2 separate regions of the Homo sapiens genome follow, and region 2 is linked to region 1. The links are contacts of gene promoters, found by promoter capture Hi-C in blood cells and fetal thymus (Javierre and others, 2016). All regions are on one chromosome and are shown on one strand. The core of a region is centred on a gene start or on the middle of the fragment in contact, and the rest is flanking DNA. Distances in the headings are between cores, read along the strand shown.

The links. The method cuts DNA at HindIII sites, captures the fragments that hold promoters and counts their contacts. A CHiCAGO score of 5 or more calls a contact.
Region 2: a fragment that was not itself captured here is called in contact with the fragment with the promoter of HYAL2 in region 1 in 1 of 17 cell types (endothelial precursors); the score reaches 5.9 in endothelial precursors.

Annotation. Positions count from the first base shown.
Region 1 is chr3:50,321,495-50,325,637 of GRCh38, forward strand. It overlaps HYAL2 (hyaluronidase 2), which reads right to left and starts at 1,251. Exons shown (of 4, transcript NM_003773.5): 1 at 1,159-1,251. TUSC2 (tumor suppressor 2, mitochondrial calcium regulator) reads right to left here. Exons shown (of 3, transcript NM_007275.3): 3 at 3,415-4,143. RefSeq lists enhancers at 15-354, 988-1,661, 2,444-2,945 and a silencer at 3,154-3,343. The HindIII fragment of the contact is 6,890 bases long and covers 1-4,143 here.
Region 2 is chr3:50,193,551-50,197,629 of GRCh38, forward strand. It overlaps GNAT1 (G protein subunit alpha transducin 1), which reads left to right. Exons shown (of 9, transcript NM_144499.3): 4 at 1-113; 5 at 203-331; 6 at 542-671; 7 at 951-1,104; 8 at 1,215-1,406; 9 at 1,718-4,079. The coding sequence ends at 1,405. Among named protein-coding and RNA genes, the nearest start is that of GNAT1, 4.0 kb to the left of the region's middle. RefSeq lists enhancers at 1-332, 333-849, 802-861, 850-1,365, 1,418-1,949 and a silencer at 1,172-1,231. The HindIII fragment of the contact is 7,498 bases long and covers 1-4,079 here.

The DNA.
Region 1 (4,143 bases), core at 1-2,500:
GGCCCTTTAAGACTCCAGTGCGGAGGTGGGCCCGGGATTGGACTTGCGGACGGGGCGGGAAGGTGTGGTCCACCTTTCTCGGTGCCGGTGCCTCGTTTCGGGCTCGAAGAGCCCCAGGTCCTCTGCAGAGGGACGTGGCCGCCCATTTAGGACCCTAATGCCCCTCTGAGCCGGGCTTTCTATGGGAGTCTCAGCCACGAGCGCCAGTCAGCCTGAAATGTTTCCCCTGCAGCCCGAGGCCGGTGGTTCAGTCCTCCCAGCTCCGCGGCGCCGCCAGCCCTTTAAAGAGACAGTGTGAGGGACAAGGCAGGGGGACGGGAAGGGGGGGGGGGGGAATAGGAGGAGGCGTTGCCCCGTTCGGCCATCAGGAGGTGCTGTGGTACTCCGAGGTTGGCAGGGGGCAGCACCAGATCTGGCTCTGCACCCCCTAACGTAGACGCCAGCCGTGGGTCCCCTTTGTGTGGAAAAAGGGACTTTGACCTGAGGCGACCTCTGGTCTCCTGGAGAGTAGTGCCCCGCCTCCCACGAATCAGGGGCCCCCTTCTCTGGTCCGCCGTCTAAAGGGAGGCCCCGCCCCCTGCCAGACTGAGGGAAGGGGCCAAGCACCGCTTCTTAGCCGGCCCAGGAAGGGCCGAGGCAGTCGTTATCCTGGCAGCCCGGCTCTGGGTCGCGGCGTGGCCGCAGGGTTGGGGTCAGGGAAGCTCAGAGGGGTCTAGGAGGTTGGCCGCCCCTCTCCCTGACTCGCATCAGGGCGGGACAGTCATCCCTGAGATCCCGTCCTTTTCTGCCCAGTCTCTGAGGTCCTTTGGGAGCCCGGCTCCCTCTCAACCCCGAGGAGGCCTCCATTCCTTGCAGCAGTTTCTGGCTGGACCTCCGAGAAAGCCAGCAAGAGGGGTCTCCCAGGGCCTCCATCCCGTATCCAGCGCCCCCTACGCTCCACAGGCCTCTCCCGGTGGGGGGCAGGCTTAGACCCTGGCGAGCCCCGTGCGAAACCACCTCGGCTCTTCCTAGGTCCGCTCCCTTGTGCGAGACTCAACTCCCAAAAGGGCCCGCGTCTGCACCACCAGCCCCTAACCCTCCCGGGCGCCAGGAGAGGGAGGGAGTGCAACTGCGAGCGCATCTGTGGGGGTGCAGACCAGCCGTCTGCTCTGGGCTCACCTGTGTGGGAGTCCGTCGGCCCAGTAGGTCGGTGGCCTCCCTCCTTCCTGGGGTGAGCCTCTCCAGCTAGGCTACTTGCGCCAGCTGCTGCCCGTTGGGCAGCTCGCCGAGGACTTGATAAACCCCATTCCCTCCCATCCGCTCCCGCCTCCCATCCCAGCCCTTTCTCCTCACTTCCTGCTGCCCCCTGAGAGGAAAGGGCCAGGAACAGGCGTGGGGGAGGAGATCGCCTTGACCCTGTTTCCCTCCAGAATGCCCTGCTGGCTGGCTGCCCTCCCCACCCTTCCCGAGTAGGATCTGGCCCCGCCAGCTGCGCCAGGTGACAGGAAGGCTATGGGCTCAGGATCAGGTGCCAATCTCCCCCACACCCACAGCTTCCAACACTAGGGAACCTCTTCACTCCTTCCCTAGGATTGGGGCCCATCCTCAAATCCAGTAGGGTGTGAGAGGATGGGGTCAGGTGGTGGTGCTTTTGGGAGTCAAAATACTTGGGGGTCGTTCAGCTGATGGTCCCCCAGAGCAGGTGCCCAAGAAGGGAACTAGCCTTGGGGGGAGGGTCGGGGGGACTTCCAGTAGCTGAGTCCGTTTTTTTCCACTGAGAGCTTCCGCATCCTGTGTGACAGGACAATGTGTTAGTGAGTGTGACTGTGTGGGTTGGGGAGGAGGGGATGGACTGGGAGGGTTCTGCAGAGTGCTTTCCTGCTGGAGTTCATTCCTGGATGGATTTCAGAGTCCACTATACAGAGTAGGGGGCTCCTTACAACATGGATGAGGAAAGGGGTATACTCCTCTGGGAGGGGTGTTCCTGTGGCTGGCCCTAGGGAGGACTGCAGCAAGGTTCCAGCAGACCTCTCCAGGGGTGCAAATCTACCTACCCTCAAATCACCCAGAGCCAACCCCTCAACAACCCAATGGCCCAATGCCCAGGAGCCTCTCCCCCAACAGAAGGCTGTGTGAGGGGTAGGTGAATACCCAGGAGTCTGGCCCTGAGGACCAAGGAGTCCAAGACATGGTAGGGGAAGGTGCAGTGTCCCTGTACCACTGTGCTGGCTTCACAGGGGCCAGAAGCCTTGAAAGCTCCATGGGTGGGGACCCCCGGGGAAACAAAGGCTAGGCCAGACTGTCCCAGGGCAGGGACACTTCCTCAGGCAGCCAGCAGGAAGGAAGTGAGCACAGCCCGGCGGGAGAGAGTGGGGAAGTGTTGCCTGACCCCCATTGTTTCCAGCGATGGGGTCAGCTGGGTAGGCCCAGCACAGGGAGTTCCCTCAGGCTGGGACAGTGGTGGTAGGAGACAGGATGCTATCTGGCATGGGAGAGCCCTGGGCCTTGAACAGCCAGTAGAGGGGGACCATGGAGGATGACAGGGCCTCATGTTTGGCATCTTATGGGGGTATGGGGAGGCACCCCACAGAACTGCAAGTCCAGGCTGGATATGGTGATCCTGCCCTAGCCTTGACAAGTTCAAACCTCCGAAAGACTGGCAGACCAGCTCCCTACACTCAGAAGCCTGTCCCTGAAATCTCCCCTCTTTAACTGGGAGTTGGACTGATAGTCAAAGCCTAAGCCTAGTAGAGAATCTGCCTTATAGCAGCCCCTGAGAAGTGCAGGCAGAATGACCACAGTGGGCAGGCTGCAGGTGATGAGAAGATGGGGGCAACAGACAGCAGGGGCAATACTAGTGGGCCGAGCCTTGCTTGCTGAAACAGCAGCCTGAGCTCATTCTCCCATGGTGTCCGCAGGCAGGCCTCAGAGGAGGCACATGAGTTTGGGTTGCTGAGCCTGGCAGTAGGCCAAAGGCGTGGGGACACCTATCTGGCTGCTGTCCATTAAAGCTGGGCCTTTGAGGTCCATGGGGGTCAGGCCATGACCCCACTTAGGATCAGCTGGCGATGCTACAGCTAAGACAGATATTCCAGAACTATCTTGGGTCACACTCTCTCACCTTAGATCAGGCAGGTGGGGCCAATCCTTAGTGAAGTATCCCAGGGCCTTCTGATTCCAAGGGTCACCACCACATGGATCACAACAGATAAATGAGTGCCCTCCCACCCTGCAGGGGGCCTGCAGTGAGGTCTGTGTGAACACACAGCCACCTGCTGGCCACAGTTGGGATGGCCACAGGCTGGGCTCAGACTTACTCTTGGGCTTTGCTGGTCATAGGGGGCCTGCCAGAGTCCTGTGCCAGGCCTACCTATTGAACCCAGGTGGTAGTCTAGACACTGGGTGTCAGAGCCCCCACAGGATGCCACTCTCATGTGCAGGATCTACAAATCATTTTATTGAAATTGAACAAATAACACAACAGTCTTCCTAAGCTAGGGGCCATCCTCCCCAAGCCATTTCCCACATTATAGAAGCACAGAGCTTGCACAGTACTTAAAAAAAAAGTCACCTCTATATAGAAATCAGACTCTGCCACGACATCATCATGGACTATTTACAAACCTTCACATTATAAGTATTCCTTTTATGGTTTTTCCCTCCTTTCTTTCCCTACCCAGGGGTTCTAGTGCTTTCCCTTGACTGATCCTGAAGGGGTGGGGGTTACTGTAAGGGAGGGGGTGGTAGGCTACTCATAACTACTGGCACCAGCCTTAGGGTGTTGTCCCTTACCACAAGGTGGTGAACAGTCCCCTCCCAATTGGAGGGGTGGAGGATTTGGTGCAAAGCCATGGAGATTAGACAGAATAGGTGGGTTGGAGTAACTCCCCATAGGCACAAGCATCCGCAGCCTGTCCTGACCCCAGCCTGCACTCTCTCAACTCCTCAACTGGGGGTTCGGGGTTGGGGGGCAACAGTTAGTTGCAGTAGGGGGATCAGCCCAGCCCTGGGTAGAGGGAGAAGCCCCCACCCAGTCCCCACTCCTATCAATAGCCAGCAAACTGTCCATCCATCTGAAGGCGGGAACAAATGGCAGGTAGGTCGGAAGAATCAGGCTGGCACTGCCCCCAGCCTCTGTCCAACACAGGAGGAATCGAGGTAGCA
Region 2 (4,079 bases), core at 1,094-3,593, 130 kb before region 1:
GGCACGATGCCCAAGGAGATGTCGGACATCATCCAGCGGCTGTGGAAGGACTCCGGTATCCAGGCCTGTTTTGAGCGCGCCTCGGAGTACCAGCTCAACGACTCGGCGGGCTAGTGAGCGCGCGGGCAGCGCGGGGCGCGGGGCGCGGGGCGCAGGGGGCCCTCCACGCCTCCCCACCCACCTACGGCCGGGTCTCGCGCAGCTACCTCTCCGACCTGGAGCGCCTGGTAACCCCGGGCTACGTGCCCACCGAGCAGGACGTGCTGCGCTCGCGAGTCAAGACCACTGGCATCATCGAGACGCAGTTCTCCTTCAAGGATCTCAACTTCCGGTACGACCCATACGCTAGCCCAGGAGGTCACTGCCCCAGGCCCCGTCCTGCCCCGGGGACCCCATCCCTGCGATAGACCCTGCCCCTTCCCTGATACCCCGCCAGCAGAAAGGGTGGTAGTCCCGGCCGAGAGCTCCCCGACCAGCACAGGGCGAAGGGATGTTGCCTGTGGGGCCCGGGGCGCAGGTTCAGGCCCCCGCGGCCCCGCAGGATGTTCGATGTGGGCGGGCAGCGCTCGGAGCGCAAGAAGTGGATCCACTGCTTCGAGGGCGTGACCTGCATCATCTTCATCGCGGCGCTGAGCGCCTACGACATGGTGCTAGTGGAGGACGACGAAGTGGTGCGTGCCAGGCAGGGCCTGTGTTCCAGGGGGGCGAGGAGGAGCTGCTGGTCCCTGGAGGCGGAGACCGCGCGCTGGGCTGGGGGAGGGCACGGGAGGGGATGCCTGTCCCGGGCGGCCTGAGGAGGCCCGGAGGCGTTCAGCAGGCCCATCTGGGGCAGTGCGGGGAGCCCTCTGAGAGCCAGCTGAGCGGGAAGCCCCGCGTGCCCGGGAGCCCAGAGAGCAGGTGCTGCGGGTCGGACGCTACCCCGGGTGCCCAACAGCTGCTGCCCTCCTCAGAACCGCATGCACGAGAGCCTGCACCTGTTCAACAGCATCTGCAACCACCGCTACTTCGCCACGACGTCCATCGTGCTCTTCCTTAACAAGAAGGACGTCTTCTTCGAGAAGATCAAGAAGGCGCACCTCAGCATCTGTTTCCCGGACTACGATGGTGAGAAGTCCGCAAGGCCGCCAGGCGGCGCCCCCGCCCCACGATCGCGGCGCGCACCCCCCGCACGGGGAAGGAAGGGCTGAGCAGAGTGAGAGCTCCCGCCCCCGCAGGACCCAACACCTACGAGGACGCCGGCAACTACATCAAGGTGCAGTTCCTCGAGCTCAACATGCGGCGCGACGTGAAGGAGATCTATTCCCACATGACGTGCGCCACCGACACGCAGAACGTCAAATTTGTCTTCGACGCTGTCACCGACATCATCATCAAGGAGAACCTCAAAGACTGTGGCCTCTTCTGAGGTAGGTCGCTGCCCTCTCCAGGCTCTTGCCTCAATACCCCAGCCCCGTCCAGCTCCCCACCCCACACCACGGCCCTGGAGCCTCACCCCCAAATCCTGGAGCCTACTGCCTCCAGGCCCCACCCCAGCTCCTCAGGCTCCACCCCACCGACAGAGGCCCCGCCCCACCCCACAAGTCCCACCCATTGAATTTCTTTTGGCCCCGCCCCAAGACCTCAGGTGTCACAGCTTCCAGGGCCGCCCCACCACACACAATGCCTAAACCCATTTATTTTGGGTCTCAGGGATGCTGACTGGGTTTCCTTTTCACAGGTGCCTGAATTCATGCGTGTCAGTCACCCTGAGACCTGGTAGCCCTAGCTGCCTTGCAGCCCCAAACCCCAGGACCCTATCAGCCCCCTGGGACTCCCTGGCCCCAACCTGCCACCTCACCAAAGCTCTGAGCCCTGCTAGCCTTGAGGCGCGGACCCTCCCCCATACCTCCCACAGTATCCCAGCGCCTCATGCCCCCAACCCCAAGCCCTGCCCTTCACCGCCCGGCTGCACTGGCCTCTAGGACTCACAGCAGCCAGCCCCAGCTAGGAACGGGCAGGACTTGGGGCAGCTGAAGCTCACGGTGACTCAGCAGTGCCCAACTGACCAATCTCCCGCAGCTCTCCTGCCCCTGGGGGCCCACGACTCACCTGGTGGGCCTGGGCTCAGCAAACAGCCCTCCCTCCCAGTATTTCATCAAGGACAGGGAATATCCCTCCCACACACAGGCCAGCTGCTCACCCTGCCACCTCCATGTGACAAGTTTGACACCTGTCTACCCAGAGCCAGTGACTGTCCCTCCCAGCAGCCTCCAAAGGGTCCAAAGTCCAAGCTAGCTCTGGCCTGTGTGGCCCCCACATAAATAAATTAGTGGGGAGGGGGCAGACCTGGGGGCCCTTGGGTGCCAGAGTGAGACACAGCAGGACCCTTCCCCAAATACTAGGCTCAGAGCAACCTCCAGCCTTCTCCAGCAGGATCTGCTCCCTGTGTCCTTGGACAGCAGATCCACACACCACTTCCCCACCCACACACAGTACCCTGGGCTGGTTGGACAACAGGATGGTGTGTTAAGGGGTTAAGGGAGGGTACTGTTGACACCAGCTATGGCCAATAGCTGGGCTGTCCTGAGGGGTGGCTGGGGACAGAGTCCAGCTCCCTTGGATCAGCCCAGAGGATTCAGGATAGGACAAAGGCCCTGGCTGTGCCCAAAAGGGTCTACCTCAGGTGGGGTTACAAGCAAACCTGGGTGACCCTCTTGTCCCTACCAGCAGCTTCTCTTGCCCCTTCCATTCAGGGTTCCCTGGCAGGGGAAGCTGAGAGCCATGGCTGAACTATCAGGGACAAAGGCCCATGTCCCCACATCCCTGCTCCCTCCTTCCTCATCCAGCACCAAATCTTTGCTTATGTCCACAGGCCAGGGCCTGTGCTGCAGTCGGGGACAAGGAGCTTCCGTCTGGCAAGGCCGGGGCACAATTTGCACTCCCCTCAGCTAGACGCACAGACTCAGCAATAAACCTTTGCATCAGGCTCCAGCTGTCCTTTCTTGGTGGAGGACTTAATTATCACAAGTCATGGGCATTTATTAAGTGCCCAGTGCTGGGTTGGGCATGAAGTGGGAAGATGGCCCCTCCCAGGAAGAAGTACCTGGCCTGACAAGGTGGGGCACTCTTGGGGGTATGGGACCAACTCATGGCTTTTCACGGGAGTTGAGGAGAGAGGAGCTGTGGAAAATATTCACTGGGACAGTCTTGGATCAAGAGGGAGTTTTGAGGTGGAGGCTCATTCTGGCAGGGACCGTAGTGTCTACCAGCCCCAGAAACATGGGCTTATGGCCACAGGAGTTCAGTGGAGCAAGAGCAGGGGAGGAGAGACGTGGACAGGTGCCCAAAGCCAGTCGGAGGGCCTGGGCTTTCTCAGAAGGTGATGGAGAGTCTTGGAAGCCCTCGAGGCAGGAACATAATTGCAGGGCTGGGATTAGGGTGAGGGAAGTGAGGCACACTCACCTTGGGTGCAACATTTAAGGCGATGCCAAAAAATTTAGTAACCAAGGTAAATAATATTAGGATAATATTTTTAAAAATCAAATGAATGCAAAACCCCACAATGAATGAAATATCAAAATCCAACAGAGGATCAAACAGAGGCATGCTAAGATATATTGGGGCTTGAAGCAAAGGGAAAACTATTTGTTGCTATATGTTTGTAGGGATTTTTTGCCAGTTTTAAAAATACATGTATCATAAAGTTTACTATCTCAGCCACTTGCCGGTGTATAGTTTGGTGGTGTTAAGTACATTCATAATGTTGTACAACCACCGCAACTGTTCATCTCCAGAACTCCTTTCCTCTTGTAAAACTGTAACTCTGTACCCATGAAAAAATAACCCCCCATTCCTGCCTTCCCCCGGCTCCTGGCATCCACCATTCTACTTTCCATCTCTATGAATGTGACTGCTCTAAGTGCCTCAGATGTGTGGGTCCATGAAGTCTTTGTCTTTTTGCAACTGGCTTATTTCACTTAGCATCATGTCTTCAAGGTTTATTCATGTGTAGCATATGGCAGAATCTCCTTCCTTTTTAAGGTTGAATAATATTCCATTGTATATATTCCACACTTTGTTTATTTATTCATCTATTGATG